Regions from separate parts of the Homo sapiens genome. Here region 1 is linked to region 2. Evidence: promoter capture Hi-C in 16 types of primary human blood cells and fetal thymus (Javierre and others, 2016). All regions are on one chromosome and are shown on one strand. Each heading gives the region's core, a stretch centred on a gene start or on the middle of the fragment in contact. The rest is flanking DNA. Distances are from core to core; before and after follow the strand shown.

What was found. Contacts are between HindIII fragments. The CHiCAGO score rates a contact against its expected background, and 5 or more counts as called.
Region 1: the fragment with the promoter of UBE2V2 here is called in contact with the fragment with the promoter of THAP1 in region 2 in 4 of 17 cell types (fetal thymus, total CD4 T cells, total CD8 T cells and 1 more); the score reaches 28.6 in fetal thymus.

Annotation. Positions count from the first base shown.
Region 1 is chr8:48,005,369-48,012,707 of GRCh38, forward strand. UBE2V2 (ubiquitin conjugating enzyme E2 V2) reads left to right here and starts at 3,063. Exons shown (of 4, transcript NM_003350.3): 1 at 3,063-3,102. The coding sequence starts at 3,087. RefSeq lists silencers at 2,769-3,028, 3,259-3,458. The HindIII fragment of the contact is 2,629 bases long and covers 1,212-3,840 here.
Region 2 is chr8:42,838,125-42,845,031 of GRCh38, forward strand. THAP1 (THAP domain containing 1) reads right to left here and starts at 5,201. Exons shown (of 3, transcript NM_018105.3): 1 at 4,900-5,201; 2 at 1,062-1,257; 3 at 1-212. The coding sequence starts at 4,970. It overlaps LOC124901940 (a long non-coding RNA gene), which reads left to right and starts at 4,810. Exons shown (of 2, transcript XR_007060901.1): 1 at 4,810-5,259; 2 at 5,643-6,907. RefSeq lists enhancers at 4,794-5,584, 4,920-5,279 and a silencer at 4,800-4,889. The HindIII fragment of the contact is 1,565 bases long and covers 4,396-5,960 here.

The sequences.
Region 1 (7,339 bases), core at 1,813-4,312, 5.2 Mb after region 2:
TAGTATTCCATGGTGTATATTTGCCACATTTTCTTTATGCAGTCTATCACTGATGGCCATTTGGGTTGGTTCCAAGTCTTTGCTATTGTGAACAGTGCCACAATAAATATACATGTGCATGTGTCTTTATAGTAGAATGATTTATAATGCTTTGGGTATATACCCAGTAATGGGATTGCTGGGTCAAATGGTATTTCTAGTTCTAGATCCTTGAGGAATCGCCACACTGTCTTCCACAATGGTTGAACTAATTTATACTCCCACCAACAGTGTAAAAGCATTCCTATTTCTCCACATCCTCTCCAGCATCTGTTGTTTCCTGACTTTTTAATGATCACCATTCTACCTGGTGTGAGATGGTAGCTCATTGTGGTTTTGATTTGCATTTCCCTAATGACCAGTGATGATGAGCTTTTTTTCATGTTTGTTGGCTGCATAAATGTCTTCATTTGAGAAGTGTCTGTTCATATCCTTTGCCCACTTTTTGATGGACTTATTTTTTTCTTGTAAATCTGTTTAAGTTCTTTGTAGATTCTATATATTGGCCCTTTGTCAGATGGATAGATTGCAAAAATTTTCTCCCATTCTATAGGTTGCCTGTTCACTCTCATGGTAGTTTCTTTTGCTGTGCAGAAGCTCTTTAGTTTAATCAGATTCCATTTGTCAATTTTGGCTTTTGTTGCCATTGCTTTTGGTGTTTTAGTCATGAAGTCTTTGCCCATGCCTACATCCTGAATGGTATTGCCTAGGTTTTCTTCTAGGGTTTTTATGGTTTTAGGTCTTACGTTTAAGTCTTTAATCCATCTTGAGTTAATTTTTGTATAAGGTGTAAGGAAGGGATCCAGTTCCAGCTTTCTGCATATGGCTACCCAGTTTTCCCAACACCATTTATTAAATAAGGAATCCTTTCCCCATTGCTTGTTTTTGTCAGGTTTGTCAAAGATCAGATGGTTGTAGATATGTGGAGTTATTTCTGAGGCCTCTGTTCTGTTCCATTGATCTATATATCTGTTTTGGTACCAGTACTAGGCAATTTTTTTTACTGTAGCCTCGCAGTATAGTTTGAAGTCAGGTAGGTAGTGTGATGCCTCCAGCTTTGTTCCTTTTGCTTACGATTGCCTTGGCTACGTGGGCTCAATACCCCTGATGAACATTGATGCGAAAATACTCAATAAAATACTGGCAAACCGAATCCAGCAGCACATCAAAAAAGCTTATCCACCAAGATCAAGTCGGCTTCATCCCTGGGATGCAAGGCTGCTTCAACATATGCAAATCAATAAATGTAATCCATCACATAAACAGAACCAATGACAAAAACCACATGATTATCTCAATAGATGCAGAAAAGGCTTCGACAAAATTCAACAGCCCTTCATGCTAAAAACTCTCAATAAACTAGGCATTGATGGAATGTATCTCAAAATAATAAGAGCTATTTACGACAAACCCACAGCCAATATCATACTGAATGGGCGAAAACTGGAATGAAGGATTCTTTTTATTTTTTATTTTTTTTTATTTTGAGATGGAGTCTCGCTCTGTCCCCTAGGCTGGGGTGGAGTGCAGTGTCGCCATCTCGGTTCACTGCAAGCTCCAACTCCCGGGTTCACGCCATTCTCCTGCCTCAGCCTCCCGAGTAGCTGGGACTACAGGGGCCTGCCACCATGCCTGGCTAATTTTTTGTATTTTTTTTTTTTTAGTAGAGACAGGGTTTCACTGTGTTAGCCAAGATGGTCTTGATCTTCTGACCTCGTGATCCGCCCGCCTCCGCCTCCCAAAGTGCTGGGATCCATGCCCGGCCAAAAGCATTCCCTTTGAAAGCCGGCACAAGACAAAGATGCCCTCTCTCACCACTCCTATTCAACATAGTATTGGAAGTTCTGGCCAGGGCAATCAGGCAAGAGAAAGAAATAAAGGGTATTCAATTAGGAAAAGAGGAAGTCAAATTGTCTCTGTTTGCAGATGACATGATTGTATATTTAGAAAACCCCATAGTCTCAGCCCCAAATCTTCTTAAGCTGACAAGCAACTTCAGCAAAGTCTCAGGATACAAAATCAATGTGCAAAAATCACAAGCATTCCTATACACTAATAACAGACAAACAGAGAGCCAAATCATGAGTGAACTCCCATTCACAATTGCTACAAAGAGAATAAAAATACCTAGGAATACAACCTACAAGGGATGTGAAAAATCTTTTTTTTTTTTTTTTTTCAGTTTTATGTAGAGACTAGGTATCACTATGTTGTCCAAGCTGGTCTCAAAGTCTTGGGTTCAAGCCATCCTCCTGCCTCAGCCTCCCAAAGTGTTAGGATTACAGAAGTGAGCTTCGGCGCCCAGCCTGTATTACTTTCCTTTTTCTTTCTTTCTTTTTTTTTTTTGAAATGGAGTCTCCCTCTGTTGCCCAGGCTGGAGTGCAGCGATTTCTGCTCACTGCAGCCTCACCTCTTGGGCTCACGTGACCCTCCCACCTCAGCATCCCTAGCTGTTCAAATTTATTGTCCAACTCTTTTGAATCGTTTATCAACGCAAATCTGTCAATGCCCACTTATTTTTATTTATTTTTTTGAGGCGGAGTCTCGCTCTGTTGTCCAGGCTGGAGTGCAGTGGCGCAATCGCGGCTCATTGCCCCTCCGCCTCCCCGGTTCAAACGATTCTCGTGCCTCAGCCTCCCAAATAGCTGGGATTACAGGCGCGCGCCACCACGTCCGGCTAATTTTTGTATTTTTAGTAGAGACGGGGTTTCGCCATGTTGGCCAGGCTGGTTTCGAACTCCTGACCTCGGGTGATCCGATCGCCTCGGCCTCCCAAAGTGCTGGGATTACAGACGTGAGCCACCGCGCCCGGCCCTCATGAACTTATTCTTTAGCGTTTCATTTTGAGAGCGGGATTCACAAGGGAATTGCGGAAACAGCAGCGAGGCCCCGCGACCCCTCGGCCCACGTGCGCGCTGTCCCTCGGGTCGCCCCGCGCCCGCCGGGGGCGGAGTCCGCTGTGACGCGTGCAGGGCGGCGCGCTCCCGGAAGTGACGCGCGACGGTTCGTGCGTGCGTGCGGGCGGCTGCGTCGGGCTGCAGGAGAAGATGGCGGTCTCCACAGGTCGGTTCCCGGGCCGGGCTGCGTGATTTTCCGCTCCGACCCGGCTCTGCCCCTCCGTCTGCTGCTGGCGCCCGAGCGCTGACCGTGCGGGAGAAGCCCGAGTGCGCTGTCTCGAATGCCGCGCTCTCCGCAGAGCGTAGCCTGGGACCGGGTGGGACCGGCGCCGAGGCCCCGGCGGCCGTCGGGTTGGCGGGTCGTGCTCGCGCGTCGGCCGCGCGCCGGCGGGCTGGGGGCGGGGTGGCTCCCGCGCGGGCGCCCCCGTAGGTTCCGGCGGGCGCGGGTCCGAGTTGTAGGCTGAAGGCTCTACGGGAGGGAGGCGAGGAGGCCCAAGGTGGGCGGGTGTCAACCTCCGGCACCGAAGATGGGTCAGGCCAACCGGCACCGAAGATGGGTCAGGCCAAGAGGTGTCCTGGATCAGAGTAGGGGTCCCATTCCTTTGGACTCTCCTTGACATGGGTTGGGGAGTAGAGGACGATTGCTCCTTAAAATAAGAGCGAGAGGATCTTTCTTACCTGACTGAATACGTGTGATCTTTTTATTATTTATGAGGAAAACTGCAGTGCAAACAAAATAAAAGACCAGAGCAAGATGAAAGCTAATTGAAGAACAAGTGGTTTCTTAGATAAGCTGTTCAACTCCTCTTTCCTACTGAATACAATGTTTGGTTTCCTGTGAGCACACAAGTATTAACGTTGAGGTTTTAGACATTAGACCATTTCAGAAATGTTAAAAACGTTAAGCTTTAGTTTACATTTAAAAATGTTAACCCGTGTGATCTGCCTTTTTCTTTTCTTTTCTTTTTTTTTTTTTTTTTGAGTCAGAGGCTCACCCTGTTGCCCAGTTGGAATGCAGTGGTGTGATCTCGGCTCACTGCAACCTCCACCTCCCAGGTTCAAGTGATTCTCCTGCCTCAGCCTCCCAAGTAGCTGGGATTACAGGCGCGTGCCACCAGGCCCGGCTAATTTTTGTATTTTTAGTAGAGACGGGGTTTTGTCATGTTGGCCAGACTGGTCTCGAACTCCTGACCTCAGGTGATCCGCCCACTTCGGCCTCCCAGAGTGCTGGAATTACAGGTGTGAGCCACCGCGCTCGGCCTGATCTGCCTTTTCCTAGTCTTCGTTGAAACAAGAGTATAGAGCAGTGTGATTTAATAGTTTATGCCATCATTGCATAATAAAATGAATTTTCAAATCTATATGTACTGAAATGGAAGGCTTTGAATATATGTTGTAATTGTTGCTTTAGAGTAATACCTCAGGATACATTCTGCATACATTTTAATTAAGTGGTGTCTTTTACATCTTTATTACATATAGGTGTCATAGGTTTTAAGATCTTTAGCAGTTCTAGTGTTGGGGTAGTATACATACTTGGGTCAGCTAGCTAGTAAGGCAAGGATTGTTTTAAAAGTGGAATTTTAGTGTTATGACTTTACTGTGCTTGCTGAAATCTAATCTGTGCTCGTTAACGGGGCCATATCTTTATAACAGTTGTGCTTAGGACCTCTTATAGATTTTTGAAAATTTAGTAATAAAATAATGCATTTTAATTTAATACTTTTCATTTTCCTTTTGTGGGTTGCATTATTAAACACAATTTTTTCATAACACTATACATGAGTGTATGTTAATATTTTGAAAAGACCAAAGGTTAGATGATATTAATGGCAAATACTTTTTGTTAATCACTTTTAGTTGTTTTGGAAGTTGAATATAAATTATAAAGATTACTGATAAATTATTAGCATATTGTACATAGGGAGTCTGTATTTTTTTTTTTTTTTTGAGATGGAGTCTCGCTGCATTGCCCAGGCTGGAGTGCAGTGGCATGATCTTGGCTCACTGCACCCTCCTCACCTCAGGTGATCCACCCGCCTCAGCCTCCCAAAGTGCTGGATTACAGGGGTGAGCCACCGTTCCCATCTACTAGTTTTTTTTTTTTTTTTTTTTGAGACGCAGTCTTGCTCTGTCACCCAGGCTGGAGTGCAGTGGCGCGATCTCGGCTCACTGCAACCTCCGCCTCCCGGGCTCAAGCGATTCTCCTGCCTCAGTCTCCTGAGTAGCTGGGACAACAGGCGCGTGCCACCATGCCCAGCTAATTTTTTGTATATTTAGTAGAGACGGGGTTTCACCATATTGGCCAGGATGGTCTTGATCTCTTGACCTCGTGATCCGGCCTCCCAAATTGCTGGGATTACAGGTGTGAGCCACTGCGCCTGGGTTTGTTTGTTTTTTTTTTTTTTTGAGACTGAGTCTCTCGCTTCTTTGCCCAGGCTGGAGTGCAAGGGCATGATCTCGGCTCACTGCAACTTCCACCTCCCTGGTTCAAGCAATTCCTCTGCCTCAGCCTCTTGAGTAGCTGGGATTACAGGTGCATGCCACCACGCCCAGCAAATTTTTTTGTATATATATATTTTTTTTGTATTTTTTTTTTTTTTTTTAGTAGGGACAGGTTTTCATCATGTTGTCCAGACTGGTCTCAAACTCCTGACCCCAGGCAATCCGCCCACCTTGGCCTCCCAAAGTGCTGGGATTACAGGTGTGAGCCACAGTGCCCAGCCTATTAATTAGTTTTAATTTTACTATTAGCTATACTTTTGTTTGCTTTTTGGTAACATGGGAAGTAAATAGTACCTGTGTATTTGTGAAAGCAGCATGATACAGCTTAAAATTTAAAATTAGATGAGCTACATCGATGTAATGCACGTGTTTGTTTGAAACGGAGTCTCGCCTTGTTGCTCAGGCTGGAGTGCAATGGTGCGATCTCGGCTGACTGCAGCCTCTTCCTCCTGGGTTTAAGCAATTCTCCTGCCTCAGCATTCTGAGTAGCTGGGTTTACAGGCATGCACCACCACGCCCAGCTAATTTATTGTATATATATTTTTTCTAGTAGAGATGGGGTTTCACCATGTTGGCCAGGCTGGTCTCAAACTGCTAACCTCAGGTAATCCATCTGCTCCGGCCTCCCAAAGTTCTGGGATTACAGGCATAAACCACTGAGCTTGGTCTAATACACGTGTTTTTTATTTAAGCCAAAGTATCTCGATAACAGTTGTTTAAGAGGCCAAAAAGAAAAACCCTGACAAATATGTTTTGATCTTTAGTTCAGTGTGCATCATATACCTTAGCCCCTTTAACCCTTCCTTCTACTGGAAGAGAATTTTGGAAGGAAAAAACTTTTAATTAGACTGAGACTTTTTGAGACGGAGTCTTGCTGTGTTGCCCAGGTTGGAATGCAGTGGCATGCGATCATGGCTCACTGCAGCCTCGACCTGCTGGGGTCAGGTGATCCTCCTACCTCAGCCTCCCGAGTAGCTGCGAACACAGGCACGCATTGCCACACCTGGCTAATTTTTAAATTATTTGTAGAGACAGGGTCTCCGTATGTTATCCAGTGTAGTCTGAACTCCTGGACTCAAGTGACCCTCCTGCCCTGGCCTGAGGTTAGGATTACAGGTTTGAGCCACTGTGCCTGGCCAGACGGAGACTTCTAAGCAGAAACATTTTTGGCCATCCCATCTGGTCTTCTTATTTTGCAGATGAGAAAACTGAGGCTCAAACAAGTAAAAGGCTATACATAGGTGGTTACTAGTACAGGCAAGACTAGAATCCAGGTCTTTTACCCTTAGTCTGATGCGCTCTCCATTATGAAGAACTCTGAATTTGGAATATTTCTCAGAACATGAATCTTAATTACTCCCTTTCACACTTCCCTTCTTAGCACAATCCTTGTTTCAGACTCTTAGATCCTTCTTATGGATGAAAGGGGAACGTAGCCCTCACCAGCTAGGTTCTCCTTTTCCAAGAGACAGAGTTACCCATGCAATTCAAGAGTATTTCACAGGACAGAGGTTAAGAAGCTACTCTCGGGAATAGAAATTTGATACTGTTTAGTACTCATGATTCAAAATTTTATTAGATTCCAGCATTAATAATAACAATTAGTTTAGATAGAAAAGTATGTGCAGGCCGGGTGGGGTGGCTCACACCTGTAATCCCAGCACTTTGGGAGGCCGAGGTGGGCGGATTACCTGAGGTCGGGAGGTTGAGACCAGCTGGACCAACATGGAGAAACCATGTCTCTACTAAAAATACAAAATTATCCGGGCGTGGTGGCACATGCCTGTAATTCCAGCTACTCGGAAGGCTGAGGCAGGAGAATCTCTTGAACCCGGGAGGCAGAGGTTGTGGTGAGCCGAGAGCACGCCATTGCATTCCAGCCTGGGTAAGAAGAGTGA
Region 2 (6,907 bases), core at 3,951-6,450:
CTGAGTTTTTCAACTTGCTGTTCTAGCTGATGAATCCTTTTCCGCTGGTGCATTGTATCCTCCACAGTATAGTTGTGGTCACAGAAAACTGAGAGATTAACAGGGGTCTGAAGAGGCGGCATTAGTAATCCAATAGCAGCATCAACCTGGGAAACAGGAGGCGGTAAAGGAGGTGGGGGAAGCTGTTCCTGTGGCTCCAGAAGATCTTCTTTCTAAAACAAAAATACAAAGTATGTTTGAATTTAGTAACTAAAAACAGTTTAAAAGAATCTGTGGACTGACCAGGCGCAGTGGCTCATGCCTATAATCCTAGTACTTTTGTGAGGAAGAGGTGGGCGGATCACCTGAGGTCAGGAGTTTGAGACCAGCCTGGCCAACATGGTGAAACCCTGTCTCTGCTAAAAATACAAAAATTAGCCAGATGTGGTGGTGCACGCCTATAATCCCAGCTACTTGGGCGGCTGAGGCAAGAGAATTGCTTGAAACTGGGAGGCGGAGGTTGCAGTGAGCCAAGATCATGTCACTGCACTCCAGCCTGGGCAACAAAGACTTTGTCTCCAAAAAATAAATAAATAAATAAATAATAAAAGAATCTGTGGAATTTAAGAAATACTGACTTTTTTTGGGAATCAGTGGTATAGAAACATTCCAAAATGAGAAAACAGTTTCAGTTTGAATAAACTTTTCTACCTGAAGTAGAGGGACGGTGCAGGAAAGAGACAAAATGAATCATCAGATCTAATTAAATATTAAGCACTGAGGAGAAAAAAATGCTTTGAAACTAAACTGTCACTGATAAAGAAAACCCAAAACTTATCAATATATAACTGGCAGTACAGAGTGGTTTTTAACTAAGTTACAAAGCTGGACTAAGTTTCTTAGTGTGAGGATATTTATCTTTAATAAACTGCATTTTGTGTTTTCAGAAGTGTATCACTGTTAACTACAAGGTTCCAGGCACATTTATTCTCTTAACACTAACTCAATTTTCCACATTTTAATCAATGAACACATCAGTTTGATAAACAAAAAGCAACCCAATATTTTAAAATGCATATTACCTTGTCATGTGGCTCAGTACAAAGAAATATTGTGGGCACAGCATTCTCTTTCAGTAACTTGTTGTTGCACTCTCTCTTAAAGCAGTCTGGAGTAAAGTGCTCTGAACAAATACTGCTATACTTGGTGGGTTTAAAGTTTTTTCTTCTGACAGCTGCCTCCCATTCTTTACAAAGACTGGGTCGAGTAAGAGGAAACCTAAGAAGAAGGCATAATTCAATTATCTGTCCTGATTTTTTAAATAAATAAAGGCACCCAAACTTTCCAGCTTAGGAAATATCTTACATTGGTATTAAAGATGTTACAATTGTATTATCCTATTGGATTAAAGATTAGCTCTAGTTATCTATTTATCTCATTTATTAATTTTTTAAAAATTTTTTTGAGATGCCGTCTTGCTCTGTTGTTAGGCTGGAGTGCAGTGGTGCAATCTCGGCTCACTGCGTCTCCGCCTCCCAGGTTCAAGCGATTCTCCTGCCTCAGCCTCCCAAGTAGCTGGGACTCAGGCGTGCGCCACCACGCCCAGCTAAGTTTTGTACTTTTAGTAGAGATGGGCTTTCACCATGTTGGCCAGGATGGATTCGATTTCTTGACCTTGTGATCTGCCCGCCTTGGCCTCCCAAAGTGCTCGAATTACATGCGTGAGCCACTGTGCCTGGCCCTCATTCATTAACGTTTAACTTTTTATACTGAGTTCACCAAAAGATTCAGGTAAAATACATACTATAGAGTAAATGTGCCCACGGCTCATGCCTGTAATCCCAGCACTTGGGAGGCCACTGTCCGAGGGACTACTTAAGTCCAAGAGTTCGAGACTAGCCTGGGCAACACGGCAAAACCCTGTCTCTACAAAAGACACAAAAATTAGCTGGGCATGGTGGTATGTGCCCAGGTACTCAGGAGGCTGAGACTGAGGTGGAAGGACTGCTCGAGCCTGGGAGGTCAAGGCTGCGGTGAGCTGAGATCATTCCACTGCACTCCAGCCTGGGTGACAGAGCCATACCGTCTCAAAAAGAAAAAAATAACCTGTATTCATATTTTTTACCAGTAATTTTCTGTGTGCTGCACAGAGAGACAAAGATTGCACATTTGTATCTGCGTACTGGGAAAAAGGGGCTTCTAGTTCTCTTAGCATCAGTCTGACAAATATGAATAGGCTAAATTTGAATTAAAGGCAGATAATAACGAAAGAATTTATTTTCTAATCAACTGGGATGTCCATTAGGCCCAGGTAAACGGGGATAGTGAGAGTTTACATTTATTGTGGTAATTTTACTCTTCCAAGTTAAGAATTTGGTAAACTGGGGGGATTAGAAAGAAAAAGGGAAGGGAATTTCAAATTTATGTTTCACAGTCTCTCTTCCATGTACGATATGCTAGAGCCTGACTCTGCTAGTAAGAGATCTTTATGACAGTCCCTTTTCTTTGTACGACATAGCACTCTCCGCTGCCACTATGTAGAGGGTGGGAGAAGTGGTACTCCTAGAAAATCTCAGCTGGGGCTGGGCATGGCCTGTAATCAGGCCTGTAATCCCAGCACTTTGGGAGGCTGAGGAGGGCGGATCAGGAGGTCGAAGTATGGAGACCATCCTGGCCAACATGGTGAAACCCTGTCTCTACTAAAAATACAAAAATTAGCTGGGCGTGGTGGTGCACACCTGTAGTCCCAGCTACTTGGGAGGCTGAGGCAGGAGAATCACTTGAACTCGGGAGGCAGAGGTTGCACTGAGCTGAGATCGTGCCACTGCACTCTAGCCTGGTGACAGAGCAAGACTCCATCTCAAAAAAAAAAAAAAAAAAAAAAGAAAGAAAATCTCAACTGGAACGGCCTCTATAAGTATAAACTAGGGTAGCATTTGCTGGTAAAATTCAGTACCTATGGCCTCCTGGCTCTGTAAGTATAAACTATGGTAGCATTTGCTGGTAAAATTCAGTACCTAGGGCCTCCTGGCTCAAGGACAACAAATTTACAGCTGTTTGTGAGATTCTCTTAAGATCTTTCCCATCTACTCTCCCTAAACCTGCTATTTTAGATAAGGGATAAGATGCAGGTTAGCCCTTCTTTTGATTCAATCCATATCTGCTTAACATCTAGCAGAAACAGTTGTATCTTTTTTTTTTTTTTTTTTTTTTTTTGAGATGGAGTCTCACTCTGTTACCCAAGCTGGAGTGCAGGGCAAGATCTCAGCTCACTGCAACCTCCATATCCCAGGTTCAAGTGATTCCCCTACCTCAGCCTCCCAAGTAGCTAAGATTACAGGCGTACGCCTGTATTTTGTATTTTTAGTAGAGACGGGATTTTGCCATGTTGGCCAGGCTGGTCTCGAACTCCTGACGTCAGGTGATCCGCCCACCTTGGCCTCCCCAAGTGCTGGGAATTACAGGCATGAGCCATCGTGCCTCGACAAAAACAGTTATTTCCGACGTGTGAATACCCTCTTTAAACTAGTTTCCAGTGCCAATGAAACATTTTCCATAATTTTAGATTCCTTCTGCCAAGCCATCAGAAATGTGGGTGGGGAGCTGGGCATGTAATCCTGTTACCATCACCTGACCTTTCCCTACATTTAGAAAGAACATGTTTACAGAAATTCCAATTAAATCAAGAGATAATATTAGGATATCCTGAACTGAATCCTCTAAGTGTTCTATCCCCTTCTCCAAGGGGTAACATTATTACTCTGGAGACCTCTCTATGTTCTACACACTCTTATTTCTATAGGGTCCATCTCACATGATATCAAACATATTTAAAAAATGCATGGACACTCCCCTAGTAAACACAGATGGCCCCACAGCAAAAAAATAAATTAACTGAAAAGATATTTAACATTTTGCTTTTGTAATTATTTACCTAATTATAAAAGATAATTAGCTAATTACCTATGGCTAATCTGTATAGTTTACCCCTGGATCTGATTTCTTACCTATCATCTGCGTATAGCTGTCAGGAATTCTTGCAAAGAAAACTTAACATAAATGTAATTAAAATTTGTAAACAAATTCAGCTGAATGAAAATGTTATGTCACATTTTACAAGCGTTTATCATAAGTAATTACAACTCTGCACTTTTTTCCTATTTTCAAGAGAATATTTTTGATCCTATCACTTAACTGTGCTACCTACTGGATAAGACAGCTCTGAAAGCTGTGGGGCAGTTTCTTTCGAAAGAGCTTTCTCTATGCACAGGTAATGCCATAATAAATAAAGATCCGTGTGAGTCATTTTATTATGATCCATGTTGTAACTGTCCATATTATCATTATTGTGTGCTGAAAAGATAACGATTTATCTCGGCAGTACCTGAAGCTTTCTCCAAAATACAGGGTCCTTAAAGCTTAGTTCCTAGAGATTGGGGGCAAAAATTCTCCCTGATTTCCCAGCCAAAAAACCCTTAATTGCTACGATGCTGGCCTCCCATCCACGGCAAGGGCGAAAAGTAGTGATTTCTTCGTTTAAAGGCCTTTGTTTCTATTTTAAATTTACCCCTAAGACCATATTAAAACACCTGGCTGCTCTGTGACCCTGGTGGTGGCAAAACCCGCGCCACCCTAGGCATCGCCCGTGGGCTCCGAACGCGTCAACCCAGGCCGTGAGCGAAGCCTGCAACCAGGGCCTGTTCCAGGAGCGCGAGAAACGGCTGCCGCGGCGACGCGCGCCGAGAACGCGCGATCGGGCGGCGGTTCCCAGCGGGACGCGGTGGGAAACGCCCGACACGGCCGGCCCCAGACCCCACCCGCCCCTCGCGCGGACACGCGCCTGGCTCCGCCCCCGGCCCCGCCGGCCGCGCGCCCCCACCCCGGCTGAGACCGGCCCCGCGAGGCGCGCAGGGTCCTCACTTGTGGAAAGAAACGGGCTTGTCCTTGTCGTAGCGGTTCTTGCAGCCGTAGGCGGAGCAGGACTGCACCATCCTTCCGGTCCTCAGGCACTTCACTTCTGCCGCCGCAGAAGGCAGGGGAAGCTGTTCTCAGTGTCGCTGCGCTCGGTTGGATTCCCTCGCTTCTTTTGTAGCTTTGGCCAACAGTTACAGTGATGGTGGCCTCCCTCGGGGGTGACTAGTGTGCCCGTTTTGTTGTTTGCATTAGCAGAAGGACCACAGCCATCGCCCGTCTCCCATCTCCAAGATGGCGGAGGCAGCTTCAACCTCACCTCTCGCGAGGGGTGCGTCCCACTGTCTCTGATTAGCCCCGAGGTCAGAGGTAACGTTTCCTGGGAAGCTAACTATTGGCTGAGGCCAGGTGTTTCCGGCGGTGGCTTCAGAGTTGCCGAAGTGGGCGGAGCCCTGAGCTTCCGGCAGGCAGGAAGGAACTGCTTGTGGGGGGAGGAGGCGCGGCGGGAGGCCGGATTCCTGGGGCATCCTCCAGCCCCGGGCTGTTCCCGTGGGTTAATTGATGCGGACCTTTTCTGGGGCAGCTTACAGTAGGGAACAACTAGGGCCTCTTGGAGAACAGGTGTAAAGCCGAGGTCGTTGGCTGATTGCGCCCATTTCTTTAAAAGGGCGGACACAGATGGTGTATGATTAATAAAATTGTGGAACCTTTTCCCAGAGTGCTAATCTTTATCCCATTACCTGTGTCTTCAGGTATCACAAGTTTCTGTGAGAGCCAACGTGACAGATTTTTAGCAATGAAAAAAGACACACTCGCCAAATCATCTCAATTGCCAACGCAGAAGCGTTTTATATATATGTATGTATATGTATGTATATATGTGTGTATGTATATATGTGTGTGTGTATGTATATATATATATATATATGTAATTTTTTAAATAAATAGAGGCGTTGTCTCCCCACGTTGCCCAGGTCAGTCTGGAACTCGAGCTCAAGGGATCCTCCCATCTCGACCTCCCCATGGGTTGGGATTACAGGAGTTGAGCCACCAGGCTGTCCCTCCCCAGAAGCTTTTCTGAAGGCTCTCCATTGCTGTGATTTCCATGTGCTGTGTTGCAAATAGCGAACTGCTGCAGCAATTTTCACACCTGAGAGAGAATATGTTAGAGGGGTTCGAACTAGAGCGACTCTGTGTTGAGTGAGGGCTAGGAAAATGAGGCTGGGACTTGCTGGGCTGCATTCCCGGGAAGTTAGGTATTCCTAGCCTCTAGATGTGTATACCATTAAGGCAACAGATTGATAATGTTTACTACACAGACCCAGACTACCAAGTGTCCAGATATCCCGATATTTTGAGAACAGAAGCATTCCTAATTTTGCTTTAAAGATAATAATATTGGGCTGGGCACAGTGCCTCACGCCTGTAATCCCAGCACTTTGGAAGGCCGAGGCGGGCGGATCACTTGAGGTCAGGAGTTCAAGACTAGCCTGGTCAACATGGTGAAAACGTCTCTACTAAAAATACAAAAATTAACCGGGTGTGGTGGCACATGCCCTCGAATTTCAGCTACTCTGGAGGCTGAGGCAGGATAATCGCTTGAATCCGGGAGGCGGGGGTTGCAGTGAGCCGTGCTTGCACCACTGCACTCCAGCCTGGGCGACAGAGTAAGACTCTGTCTCATAAATAAAGATAATATCGATTCTTACATAATATAGTAATTAATCCTTTATCACAAACCCTTGTAGCAAAGCACATCTCCCCATGATCTTTTTTTATCCTATATATAAACTAAGTGTTGTACTTAGGGTGGACGCGTTCCTCCTCTTACTTTCGGGAATGCCCTACTCTGTCTGTGGAGTAGCTGTACTTTCACCACTTTACGTTCTTAATAAACTTGCTTTTGCTTTGTACTGTGGACTTGCCCTGAATTCTGTCTTGCGTGAGATCCAAGAACCCTGTCTTGGGGTCTGGATTGGGACCCCTTTCCTGTAACAGTTTTACTTCATTCCCTGCT